Regions from separate parts of the Homo sapiens genome. Here regions 2 and 3 are each linked to region 1. The links are contacts of gene promoters, found by promoter capture Hi-C in blood cells and fetal thymus (Javierre and others, 2016). All regions are on one chromosome and are shown on one strand. The core of a region is centred on a gene start or on the middle of the fragment in contact, and the rest is flanking DNA. Distances in the headings are between cores, read along the strand shown.

The links. Contacts are between HindIII fragments. The CHiCAGO score rates a contact against its expected background, and 5 or more counts as called.
Region 2: a fragment that was not itself captured here is called in contact with the fragment with the promoter of CLLU1 in region 1 in 1 of 17 cell types (neutrophils); the score reaches 5.1 in neutrophils.
Region 3: a fragment that was not itself captured here is called in contact with the fragment with the promoter of CLLU1 in region 1 in 1 of 17 cell types (neutrophils); the score reaches 5.3 in neutrophils.

Annotation. Positions count from the first base shown.
Region 1 is chr12:92,420,023-92,424,693 of GRCh38, reverse strand. CLLU1 (chronic lymphocytic leukemia up-regulated 1) reads right to left here and starts at 3,163. Exons shown (of 2, transcript NR_027933.1): 1 at 2,859-3,163. It overlaps CLLU1-AS1 (CLLU1 antisense RNA 1), which reads left to right. Exons shown (of 3, transcript NR_144319.2): 2 at 3,521-3,680; 3 at 4,234-4,608. The HindIII fragment of the contact is 1,184 bases long and covers 3,093-4,276 here.
Region 2 is chr12:91,822,033-91,826,733 of GRCh38, reverse strand. No RefSeq gene overlaps it. Among named protein-coding and RNA genes, the nearest start is that of LINC02404, 51 kb to the left of the region's middle. The HindIII fragment of the contact is 3,138 bases long and covers 1-2,990 here.
Region 3 is chr12:91,782,173-91,787,150 of GRCh38, reverse strand. No RefSeq gene overlaps it. Among named protein-coding and RNA genes, the nearest start is that of LINC02404, 91 kb to the left of the region's middle. The HindIII fragment of the contact is 2,474 bases long and covers 959-3,432 here.

The sequences.
Region 1 (4,671 bases), core at 1,914-4,413:
ATTTGTTGAACATCCTCAAAACAAGCCTAGGAGATGATTATTATAGTCTCCATTTTATAGATGAGGAAACTCAGGCACATAAAGTTTGATTTCCTTGCTCATGAGTCATGCAGCTAGTAAGTAAAGGAGAAACACAAGTCTGCCAGAAGCTAAGGCCTGGGTTTTCTTCCTTGGGAAAACTCAGAAATACTAAGTTGCAGAAAACAATCACAGGCTACAATGGAACTTCGCCAGCTCTACTGTGCATATGAATCCCGGGGCATCTTGTCAGTATTTATATTCTGATTCAGTGAGTCTGGGATGGGACCTGAGATTCTGCCTTTTTAACAAGCCCTCGGCAGATTCTGATGCTGCTGTTCCAGGGACCAAACTGAAGTAGCAAGATACTTAAGATTACAATATAAAATTTTACCTTCAACCCAAATATGTTATATCCTACTCCAATTCTGTATTTTTCTGATAGTTTCCTTTCTTCTCTTCTCTGATCTTTTTGTCACTTTTCTCTATTCCTGAAGAAATTAGAGCAAACCACTGCAACATAGTTTTTCTAGCATCCTTTAGCTAACTGCAATGAAATGTTAGGTCAAGTGTTATTTTTCCTTAGTTGGTAAAAAAAGAAATGTGATTTGTGGAATCTGTGGAATCTGAATGCTAAAAGAGAATTTACTCTCACCCTCCTTTATTTCCTTCCTCTGATATTTCTATTTCTCAGACCTCCCTCTTTTTTTTACCTTCTTCCTTTTTTTTTTTTTTTTTTTTTTTTGGTCACACTTGTTATACTCAATCTCTGGCACTTTTACAAAAATATTTTAAACTCTGCATTATCACTTTTCCCCAGTATTTTCTCTCCTTTTATGAAATTGAGCCCTATGGCTCATTTTATTTCCCTTAGCTTTTTAGTTAGATAGCATGACGTTATAATTCAGGCATAGTCAAAGCTGCAAACAGTAGCATAATGTTATTATACCTGAGTTAGACTGCCTGAGTTAATAGCCTAGGGTGACTAGCAGTCTTAACTTGGGTTAGATATTTAAACTTTAGGAGCTCAGTTTCTCCTCTTTAAGGTAGGATAATAGTGGTATACATATTTGGGTTATTTATGAAAAATAAATTTGACAAAAGTTAATTCACATAAAGGACTTAGCATAGTGCTTTGAATGGTGTCAGCTATATCATAATTAAAGATTATTTCCCCATGGGGCTATGGGATTATCTATCTGGACAACTGAGGATGGTGGCATGTAGCCCAGCAGTTTCCTTACATGCTGTGACCCAGCAAGCTGAGCCAGCTCTGTCTTAGGCACTTCCTGGAAGCAGGCTTATTGGTGTTTTCAACACCCAGAGTGGATCATTTGTTAACTCCTTCCTCCTCTATTCCGTACATTTCTTTTTCAGTAATAATCCTGTAATAATCAGTAATAATTATGCTTTTCTTGATTCGCTCTTTAGTTTTATAACAAATACCAGTTTTAAAAAGAAGAAAGCTGTAATTTCAGTGATGTTACTTAGTCTTGTAAAAATACTTCATGTACTTAAAATTGTGTCTAAAAAGCCAAAAATATTCCAGCATGAAGTTGACACTCTGTTTTACTATTCAAAATTTTAAGCACAAGTAAAAACTCTCAGTGGTTCCATAGAATGACAGAAGCAAGCAATTTTGGTTCACTTATTTTGTCTACACAATCACTGTGTTATCATTCTTGATTTTGAATCTGTGATTTGAAGAAGAAACATGTGGTACCCCAAAGACTAGGGCCATGAAATACCCTAAGTATTTACCTGAGTCCTTAAGAGTCAGGGACTGTATACCCGAATGTTTCCCATAATCATTTTCATGTTGAATTCAATGTTTGTTAAGGAACAGGTAATAAAAATATGCAAACTTGAAAGTATTTATATATTTAAAAGCTCAGTGGTGACCACAACAATTATTTAGAATTCAAACCAAGAAAATGTTTTTTCAGGGAAGAGTATTTGACCACTAGTATGATTTAGAATTATGATGCATGGCAATAATTATACCAAACTGCATTTCAGTGACTCTATTATTTTTTCAGATTCTCTACAGACAGTGCAGCCTAGTATCTCCCAGACTTGTACTTCCTATGGCCCTGCACTTGGGGCCCCACTGCCTGGTAGAAATGAAGGTTAGTGTTCGAAAGTATTTAAAGAATCCTGCTAATCCCTATTTTATCCATAAATGTCATCTGTCATAAAGAAACTTTTAGCAGTTTCTCAACTTCTGAGAGGTCTTGTGGGAGGTTTTGCCATAAAGTGCTCTTGTTGAGCTCTTGATATCTATAAGCTGATGCCCTGGGCTTGTCCCAAATGATGCCTCCCACCCATTCATCAGCAGGACACTATCCCAGTTCACACACCTATGCCCCATCTCCACATATGTTTCACCAAAACCATAAATTTTGAAATAGAGTCAATATAAATGTATAACATATTGTATTAGGGCTCTTCAGAGAAAAAGAACCAATAGTATATTTGTGTGTGTTTGTGTATGTGTGCGTATACAGTCATGCACTACACAATGACATTTCAGTCTACAAAGGATTGCATATATGATGGTGATCCCATAAGATTATACCATATTTTTACTGTACCTTTTCTACATTTAGATATGGTAGATACATACATACTTATCATGATGTTATACATACTTATCATGAGGTTACAAGCTACACCATGTAGCCTAGATGTGTAGTAGTCTATGCTGTCCAGGTTTGTGTAGTTACACTCTATGATGTTTGCACAATGATGAAATCACTTAACAATGCATTTCTCAGAACCTGTCTCCATTGTTAAGCAATGCATAACTGGATATGTAAATAAAATGGAAATTGACTCACACAATTATGGAGGCCAAGAAGTCCCATGATCTGCCATCTGCAAGCTGGAGAACCAGGAAACCTGGCAGTGTAATTCAGTCCAAGTCCAAAGAACTGAGAACCAGGGAAGCCAAAGGTGTAACTCCTGGTTTAAGTCTGAAGGCCCACTCACATCCAAGGGCAGGAGAAGATGATATACTAGATCAAGAAGAAAAGAAGCAAATTTTCCCTTCCTCTTTTTGTTTTATTCAAGCTTTCGACAGATTGGATGATGCCTGCCCTTATTGGTGAGAGCCGTCTGCTTTACTAAGTTCACCAATTCAAATGCTGATCTCTTCCGAAAACACTCTTATGGACACACCCAGAATAATGTTTTACCAGCTACCTGGTCATCCTTTAGCCTAGCCAGGTTGATGCATAAATTTAATTATCACACATATAGTCTTACCAATTAGTGACCTTTTCATTCTTTATGGTATTTAACAGTGAAGATTTGTAGATGGTCTGTCTACTTGGTTTTATAGGTTTTGATCAGCACTCAGAAGCTCAGTTTGATCACCCTAGTTTGGCCTGAGCTGAAAGCACTGAAACAGTGAGTTCTTTGGGTCTTACTTCTAGAAACCAGGAAATGAGAGAGATAGTGACTTGGTTTCTCTTATGTTTCCCTTTTGTTCTCTTCTCAGTGGCCTTGCTAACAAGTTTACCTCCAAACTATGAGATTTCAGAAGGAAAACCAAGAGCCATCTCTGCATATGTGAGAGCGGGCAAAGGAAATGTGACAAGGAGAAGAAAGAAGACACACTTGGGCAATGATGATGGGAAGAAGGAAGCACAGGAGAAAATGTAAGAAATGTACAGGTGAGAGAGATCAGGAGAAAGATGGGAAATGTGGGAGAGCAGCAGGAATCATAACAATAATAATGCCAATTTGGAAACGAGAACCAGTGTATAAAGCATACCAATAAGGCCAACGAAGTGCCAACGATGGAAAGCCACCCTATCAGGAGAAAGTAAAGTCATAGCAGATGTTTTATGAGACAGCTCAGAACACAATGACTGACCAAGAAAGCGGCACAAGTTAGAGGTGGAGAAATGACCCAGACCCAGACCTTTAGGGGTCCTGAACTTGGTTCATACCTCATGTCAGAAGGAGTAGTGACCAAAAGAAATTCTCTTTGCTTTAATTATAGAAGCAGGAATATACCTGATTTTGTATGTAACAGCATATGTTTAAGATCTGAATATTTCTATACCCAAAAGCATAATGTATTAGGGTTAATCATTTGAAATTGCCAATATGCACTCATTTTACCTATAAAAACTGTAATTTTGCATGGTTCAAACTAATAGATATGAAGATATTCTCAAGCAAACTTTTTTTTCTTTTGCCTTGAAGCCCATGAGGAAGATCCAAAGAGAACTTTGGCCTTAACTAAGCTTCCTACATTCTCCTGGAGTCGGTGGTTTATGAATGTGGTGCCATCTGGGGAACTGACAACCCCTGATGTGTTCACTCTGCTCGTCTTCCAGGTGAGAGAAGAAGAAGGCGAGAAAGAAAGAGAAGTTCCAGAATTTCACAGGCTGAGGGAGATGGTAGTAACTTCTGTTTATGTTGGTTTCTGTTTATTGGTTTGCTTTTTATTTTGAACTCGTTTGACTTCAGGTTCCAGATTTGTTTTTTTCTTTGTAAACGAGACTTTGACATTGTTAGCAGGCCCATCTGTTTGCTTTTCTTAAATAAAATGTAAATTGGTTTTTGTTTTAAATTTCAGGTGCTTTTAAGTTTGACTCTGCTATTCATTTCCTAAGGTAGTTTGGGCATGGTAGTGCTGGT
Region 2 (4,701 bases), core at 172-2,671, 600 kb after region 1:
TTCTACCTGTCCATCTTCACCTCTCACTATGCCTTGCTTTGAAACCTGTATACCAACAATAACAAACCACGTGTTATTAGCCACTCTCCTCCCCACCCAATGCACCAAATTAATCATCATTTTCCCACTACTGACTTTGAATGGAGAACCAAACAAGTAGCACATCTAAATTACTTATAGAGAATACTTAATTCCACATCACCATTTGCAGAACACAGAGAAATTCTCATGTTCTTTTTTATATCTCTCCCTAGCAAAGTGTCTGGCCTGCATTGTTTATATGCCTTTGGTAAAAGGAGTTCAGATCATAATAATTGGGGTTGAAGAACACTGAATAGATTGACAGCTCTGGGTGGAAGCACAAAACAGAATTAACGAGTTGTTGAATCCAGTCTAGAGTCAGTGTACTAGTCTAACTAAGGCAGGGAGAAGAAAATCAAGCCAAATTCAACCCAAGAGGGCCTGACCTCTATGAAGTTACACAGCACCAAGAGGTGTGATGTTTCATAGATACAAAGAGGGCAGATGTTTTCAGAATGGAGAGAGAATAATCAGATGGGCAACTGCTGCAGTCATGTCAGATAAGAACTGAGATTTATCCATTGTCTTTGGAAATACAAAAGTCCTTAGTGACCTTTGCAAGAACAGTTGCAGTGGAACTAGAGAACAAAAGGCAGATCACAGCACGGTGAGGAGTAAATTGCTTATTATGAAGTACAGATAGCACGTAGCAGGAAATTTTTTAAGAAGCTCGACAGTAAAAAAGTAGAGGTAGAGGGGAATATGGTGTCCTTGAAAGGCATTTCTTTATTGAACTATGCATATATACTCAAACATGTACATAAATTTTAAGAAAAGATCCAGAAGAGAGAAAGAAAAGAAAAGAAGAGTGTGTGTGAGAGACAGAATCCTAAGGAGAGAGAGAGGAAGCAAAAGAAAAAAAGAAGAAGAGGACTGGGGGAGAAAAGACAGAGTACCTGACGAAATAAAGTCTCAAAAGAGAAATTGGAATTCACAGGTGAAAGAACTTGGAGTAGAAAGAGAAAATCCCCTTTCACAAAGACAGGAGGAGATTCTGGGAGAATGTGGTGATTAAAATGTACTCAAAGCACTAGGAGATAAAGGTGGAAGGAACTTTTGTTCTATGGTCTCATTTTAATCAAATAGAATATAACATCCATAACTAAGGGTGAGGGAGGAGGAGTCAAGAGAAATGTAGCCTGGCAACAACTGAGATTGGAGACCATGAATCTGAAATGTCCCTGGTTATGTGATTTTATGCTAACAGCTCTCAGCATCAAGAATTCTGCCTGTATATTGTGGATATTTATGTGCAGTATTGTTCTTTTAATTTCAGTGATATACAGCAATATCTCTTATTGGATGGGGTCCTTTTTAAAGCCATAATAAATGCCAATTTTGATTCCTCCAAGGACACTACTAGAAGGATTTAACATGAGCTCCACATATGAAATGATCATGAAATATGTCATCTAAGAAATCTTGCAAATTGCACTGCATAAACAGATGGCACAGCTTTGCAATATAAGCAGCAATGCCCTCACCAGCTGTTGATTTTCTTTGCAAAATTTAAATCACTGCACAATGGCTGCTGGTGCTGATGAGAAGTGTATCTAAAATAATCCCACAAGTTCCACAAATGATTAAATGTCCTAGGTTTAGAAGAGATTGGGGTAAAAAGATACTTTATTATTGTACATGTTTGAGCTGCAGAGATTTTCAGAAAATATCAAACTTATGTTTGGATATACTTCAAAGTAGGGAGGAAAAAGCTCATTCCTTTATATGTAGGAAGCCATCTGACTGTATAAATGCCTCCATTCTGCCCTAACCCTCTGCCTTCACTCTGGCATCTGTGATATTTTACTATCCCTGAACGCCTTTGCTCTGTTTTCTTCTTTGATTTTTCTGTCTTCTATTATCCTTGACATTTAGGGAATTTTCAAGCATCCTGGGTCTTCTCTTTGTATGTGCTGTTAATTGCCTAATCCCTCTCTTGCCTCCCCTTAAACTATAGCCTGCATGCTGTCATCCAAGGAGAGAGTCCATAAAAAGCTGAGAATGTAGATCTGAAGTTTAGGAGAAAGGAGGAGGCTGTAAACACACAGAGTTAAGGAGGTTAATGTATATGTAGAAGAAGTCATACCCTTCTTTCTCTTCTCCATTTGACAAATCCCTACACATCTGTGCAGACTCAGCTATAATACTAACAAGATAATAATAATAAATAATTCATGAATTTTTCTATGTGTCAAACACTAAGCATTTTAAATGTATCAGCACACTTTATCTAACCCCAAATTCAGTGCTATCATCGTGGTTACCTGTATGACTATATTTACCTTCCCTAGTAGACATTAAACTTTTTTAAGGAGAGAGAAATTATATCACTTATATTTTTGTCCCCTATGGGACTTCTTGTATTTTCTGTATTGAATATGTAAAAAGCATGTTTGTTGAATGACAAGATAAGAAAAAAGAAAAGGAATGCACAAAATTGTTTTAAAAGTTAAAATGATTAACTATATACTTAAAATCATGCTTTTTCATATAAATTGTGAGTTCTTTGAGAATAAGATGTGTTTGTCTGTTTCCCTCAAAATACCAGGTACATTGTAGATACTCAATACACATTTGTTGGTTGATTGGTTAAAACCTGCCAGAGTGCTATTTTACCCTAGAAAGTGGAAAGCTAAGGGATATATAATCTAACTCAAAGTCAGAATTCACTGAGTACCTGCTGCATCCCTTCCCACAGACCATTTGTCAGGCATGTTGTTTGATTCTTTGGATGTGATTTTACTGAAAGTGGTTTGGATAGTGACCACTGGGCACCACCCCATTGCTGAATCTCCACTAGTCACTGTGACTAGCAACTTACATTCCATTCTGTTTCTCTTCATTCCTGTTCAAATCATCTACCACTGTGGCACTATTGTGGATATCTTTTGCATCTATTGAAGAAAGCTTACAGTTTACATTAAAGATGACTTAAAGCAAGTTGCACATTAATAGTGGACACTTTAAATAAAAGTGTATACTATAACTATTTTGTGAGAATTAATTTACAAAACAGTTAATTTCTATCTATGGATGACAATGTGTACTTACACTAGAAATAATCACAAAAGCCTACACTGGTGAAAATGAAGAAACAAGATATTCAACTAAATAACACAGGTCGACTTATTTTTGTGCAGCTATTAGAAATCATAAAATGAAAGGTGTAATAAATCAAAAGATTATTTATTGTTCAAACTGACTTTAAGTTCATCTGTGAGGAGATGGTATTTGCAACTGGAATATGAACTATGTTTTCTTCTGAAAAGCAACCATACAATTCGGTGCTGATTGGTACATAGCGAATGACATTTGAGTTCCAAAAACAAATCTATCTCTAATTTTTTGCCAAAAATAAGAACAAATTCTAATTATGAAAAGAAAGTCTCTTTGTTTTGAGAGGCTAGTAACTGAGTTTTCACTACATAATTTCTACCTTTTCTCCCAGTGGGGCTATATCATCATGCAAGATATGAATGCATCATCATCATTTTACCTGGAGAAGTGCCATGGGTTTTCTAGAAAATTTGCATCTCTAGAATTTAGACTGGAGACACCTTGTATGTCATAATTCTGTGATCCTGGCTTTTAAATTTGTATTCTTATGATTTTGGCTTTCTGGGATAACTTTCTGTTCTCCCTTTTCTAATACCTAGCAAAGATTGGATATTTTGTTAGTATTTGGATACCCAAAGGAAGACCTGGTTGTCTTCCTTGTCAGACCATCCCTCACAATCCCTTCAGACAGACTGAAGAAAAATTGGTATTTTCAAATGGAGTCTATGAGATGAATTGCAGATGGTGCCTGTTACCCCTACGTATGACAATCTCAGTAGAACAGTGATTTATAGCTTCCCAAGGAGTTTGTATACAACTTGCATTTTTTAAAAAATAAAATGAAATGAATCCCTATATAACAGAAAAAAAAAAGAAAATTATCTTTCTTACAGTCTTTAACTTTGATCTGTGTATTTTAGTCCCCAAAGAAACATCGAGGCATTTTAAAGCATAAAATAATCTATACCTACCCAAAGAACAGATCCTAGGTCTAATACAATTCAAGTCCAAATGAAGAGTTTCATTTTCCCAGGAGGTTAAACCTCCAACAAGTTGAAATTAATATATGTATATAAATTAAAGAATCTGCAACATTCAGAAAACATCCCTTGCCTTTGAGATTCACCAACTTTTGCTCTGAAATTTCTGGAGTTATTAGGTGGTAAAACTGTAGGTCCACAGCTAAGGCAAAAACAGATTAGCCATATAGGTCAAACAATATGAATAGAATATCTATAAATGTATTATTTATGAAAAAGCTAGCATTCTGAAACTAAATTAATTTAGAGAGTGTTTGTCTAGAAACACTTTCCTATCCAGAATCAATTACCATTAGACTGCTTAGTACAATTGTCTAACAAACCTACCGGAAAGCCATTAGACAACAAGTATATGAAGATAGTTAACTTAATTAGTAATCAGGTCACTATAAATCATGACAACAAGAAAATGCCATTTTACATCCATTCAATCAAAATAATTAAAAGTTTGATAACAATTGCTGGAGCAATGCTAATCAATAAATCTTTTACATCGTTGTGGGGATAAAATGGTACAATTGCT
Region 3 (4,978 bases), core at 946-3,445, 640 kb after region 1:
AAATTCCAACCAAATGAGTTTAATTTGCATGCATCCAAAGTACCCAAGACTGCATTGCAGGCAGCAGCTCTGCCCAACATCAAAGACACTCAGGAGATCAAAACAAAATCAAGTTCTGCGGAAGTGATTCTCTTATTCTTTTTCTTAATAGGCATGTTTGTGTTTTCTCTGTTGGTATTGGTCAATTCAAGGCAACATTAAAGTCTGTGAACACCACCAAGATTTGAATGACTCCATCTTAACCTAGGAGGTAATGAAAACATGCGAAGTCTGACATCTGAGAAAGGGTCTGTGATTGAAATCTGAAAACCTGTAGCTGCATTGAGAATGAAGGACCTTTGTACTGTTTCATTTTCCCTCTTGCAGAGGTGTGCAATTGCTGTCACAAGATTGGATTTATGTTGGAACATTTCCCCTGCCCCTTCAATTTTTTTTTTTTTTGCATGAGATCTACATGAAGATCATTAAATGTCCTTATTAAGCCTGCCTGAACCAGAGGACAATGACCTTTTTCATGTTCTGTCATTTGTTAGGTGGGTTTGTCCCAGTCTTCTGGCTTTGTTTTCTCAGGGAGGGAAAAATAAGAGCCAATCAAACTGTAAGATTCTGACTGGGTTAAAACCAGGCCAGGGTTGCTTAAGCAGTGCTAACACTTGCATGGATCATTTTCATGACAAAGATTGAAAGGAGTATAGAAAATAGCACAACGGGATTCAATTCACGTGACAAAAGGAAATTGTGCAAAGTTTAATCCATTCCCATTACAGTCTCAAGATTGTAATCTCCTTGGATGCTGAGCCCAGGAAAGATTATTTTTTTCTACAATATGCATCATCAAGTTGCTTTAGAAGTGGTGCTGTGGGCTGGAGGGAGGCAGCACAAGTTATATAACATGCAATTTAGGATAATGGCCTTTGAAAAGAAGAAATTGATATAAACAGACGAGGCCAACAAAGCTTCAGTCATCTAGAAGGTAGTTTCAATCACTACTGACATTAAACAATATCACCCCCACTGAGTCTACACTATGTTTATTATCATTTAATTTCTTGCTCAAATCGGCACTTTCTTATCATAATGTCACAGGGATTGCAAGCTCTGTTGTGACTACAATTGGTAGAAAACCTCATTCATCTAAATAAGTAACAGGATACAGAAATTGAGCTCTCTATCTTCACCTTCTGTGACTTTAAATATTCTACCAAAAACATTAGCAAAAATGGAAGCTACAGTGTTTTCACAATTATCACAGCACTGTCTTTGCTCTTGTAATGATAGAATCCATACTTTCAATCTGAGGTGCTTAATCATAGCAGCCGTCTAGTCCGCCCAACTGTGGGCTTTTAGGACTCCCATAATTATTCATTTTCACTCACTTGACAGAGGGTGTTTCCTTGAAATAATTCAGGCCACATCAGAAAATAGAATTTTAAAATCTTTTCATGTGTTCTGCTATACATAACAATACTGAATTATGCATTAATAAACCAAATTTAATTGGCTTGGAGGTGCGTATGCCCTAATTAACACTATACCGCAATACTAAAACTGATTGCTACAGACCATCAAATACACAAATGTAGACATAATGATTGTACCATTAGTGAATGAAGTTCCGCTGTCTCTTGGTCCATAAAAACCACACCTTTGCTTTTTCTTCATCTTCTCCCTTGCTTTTTTTCCTCTTCATATTCTGCCTCTGCTTTTCCTTTTCTCTCTTTTCTCATTTTTTTACAATATTTTTGGGGAATAATTTTAGATGTACAGAAGATTTGCATAGATAGTAGAGAGAGTCTGTCTTTCATCCAGTTGTCCTCTTATTTTTAGTAAAATGTATTAATGGGTAGCTACTCAGGCCTACTTTTCGTGTATTAATGGGAAGTTAATACATGATATGAAAAATAGTTAAATAAATTTAGAAAATCTGTGTCAACTCCACAGGTAGAGCCTTTACTATATAAATAGGCACTGCAAATCTGCAATGCTTAGAGCTCCTGAATTAAATGACTGTTTTACTATTCTTTTAAAATTTAATACATTATTTCCTTGCTATTGTCCCTAGGAACTTGGAGCTGTGACCATCTCTCTCTGTCTCTATCTCTTTCGTGAACTTGAAGAAAAAAAATGGTATGAGGAGATATCAAATGGAATTTAGGTGGCTGTATTAGTCCATTTTCACACTGCTATAAAGAACTTCCCTGGGGCTGGGTAATTTATAAAGGAAAGAGCTTTAATTGAGTTACAGTTCAGCATGGCTGGGAAGGACTCAGGAAACTTACAATCATGGTGGAAGGGGAAGCAGGCACCTTCTTCACAAGGCAACAGAAGAGAGAGGAACGAAGGAGGAACTTCCAAACACTTATAAAACCATCAGATCTCGTGAGAACTCACTATCACGAGAGCAGCATGGTGGAAACTGCCCCCATGATCCAACCACCTTTCTCCCTTGACACATGGGGATTACAGGTCCCTCCCTTGACAGGTGAGAATTACAATTCGAGATGAAGTTTGGGTGGGGACAGAGAGCCAAACCACATCAGTGACATTATATAATTTTTTGGTATATTTCCACTGGACTGTGCCTGTAATATGGCTTACCCACCATGGAATCCTTACTAATTCTAAACTCTCGTATTTCAATTGATTTGTTGATATGAATATTTACCCGTGTACAATGTTAACAGCAGGCAGGAACTATCTAGCTCCATCTACTCCCAGAAATAATGCTTTTAATTTTTCATTTCTAAAGGAGTATCTTCTCCTGTATTAGGTACACATTTCAAGGCTTTGATATATATTCTAATGCTTAAGAAACTTATTCAACTTGGTAGCCATGGCTACCCCACCACAAAATAAATGAATGAGTAAATAAATATAAAAATAAATAAGAATACAGGGAGCATGCTCCAAGAGTTGTACATCTTCTTGACAGAAAATCAATATACAGTAGTTGTGGAGATGGAGATCGTTGAGCTAAATTTTTGTTTACCTTCTAGATAATTCCAGTTTCTGCTGTCATTGGGATGGTAAAAAGAGAGCTTTCCCATCTCAGAAAACCTTTTGTGGGTCATGACAAGCTATTTGCAAATTATGTTCATTCAAATTCTAAATTCTGCCCAAATGCAGTTGACAGACTGTAGACAGCTAAGTTATGGGGATGGTACAAATAAATTCTGTGTATGATAATTACTTATTGATCTGCAAAGTGCCTTCTATTTGGATCTGTATTAGAATAAAGGCATGAATGTGTTGAAAGCTCATAACAATCATATTGAGAGCAACAGGGACAAGAACATCTCCTTAGCATGTATCAGGGTTTAAATATTCTTGCTAGAAGAAAAAGACTTTCTTCTCTTTCAATTTCTAAAAATATGTAGCTTTTTAAAAATTAATGGTTTCTAGTTTCCAACTCAAAGCCAGATTAAAGAAGCTTCTTTTATTTTTCTTTAACTTTTACTCTAAGTTCAGGGGTACATGTGCAGGATGTGCAGGTTTGCTGCATAGGTAAAAGTGTGCCATGGTGGTTTGCCACACAAATCATCTCATCACCTAGGTATTAAGCCCAGCATCCATAACCTATTCTGGATGCTCTCCCTCCCCCCGTCCCCAGCAGGCTCCAGTGTGTGTTGTTCCCCATCATGCATCCATATGTTCTCATCATTCAGCTCCCAATTATACGTGAGAACATGCAGTCTTTTGTTTTCTGTTCCTGCATTAGTTTGCTGAGAATAATGGCTTCCAGCTCCATCAATGTCCCTGCAAAGAGCATGGTCTCGTTCCTTTTTATGGCTACATAGTATTCCATGGTGTGTATGTACCACAGTTTCTTTATCCAGCCTGTCACTGATGGGCATTTAGGTGGATTCCATGCCTTTGCTATTGTGAATAGTGCTCAATGAACATATGCATGCATGTATCTTTATAGTATAATGATTTGTATTCCTTTGGGTATATACCCAGTAATGGGATTGCTGGGTCAAACAATATTTCTGCCTCTATGTCTTTGAGGAATCACCACACTGTCTTCCACAATGGTTGAACTAATTTACACTCCCACCAACAGTAGAAAAGTGTTCTTCTCCACAACCTCATGAACATCTGTCTTTTTTTGTCTTTTTAACAATAGCTATTTTAACTGGCATGAGATGGTATCTCACTTATGGTTTTGACTTGAATTTCTCTAATGATCAGTAATGTTGAGCTTTTTTTCATGTTTGTTGGCTGCATGTATATCTTCTTTTGAGAAGCGTTCATGTCATTTGCCCACTCTATAATGGGGTTGTTTTTGTTTTTTTTGCCTGTTGATTTGTTTAAGCTCTTTGTAGACTCTGGATATTAGATCTTTTCAGATGGATAGATTGCAAAATTTTTCTCCTATTCTATAGGTTGTCTATTCATTTTGATGATAGTTTCTTTTGCTGTGCAGAAGCTCTTTAGTTTAATTAGATTCCATTTATCAATTTTTGCTTTTGTTGCAATTGCTTTTGGTACCTTCATCATAAAATATATGCCCATGCCTGTGTCCTGAATGGTATTGTGTAGGTTCTAGGGTTTTTATAGTTTTGGGTTTACATTTAAGTCTTTAATACATCTTAAGTTGATTTTTGTACATGGTATAAGGAGGGGTCCAGTTTCAATTTTCTGCATATCGTTAGCCAGTTATCCCAGCACCATGTATTAAATAGGGAATCCTTTCCCCATTGCTTGTTTTTGTCAGGTTTGTTGAAGATAAGATGCTTGTAGGTGTGCAGTCTTATTTCTAAGTTCTCTATTCTTTTCCATTGGTCTATGTGTCTATTTTTGTACCAGTACCATGCTGTTTTGGTTACTGTATCCCTGTAGTATCGTTTGAAGTCTGGTAGCGTTATACCTCCAGCTGTGTTCTTTTTGCTTAGGATTGTTTTGGCCATATGGGCTCTTTTTTGGTTCCATATGAATTTTAAAATAGTTTTTTTTCTAATTCTGTAAAGAATGTCAA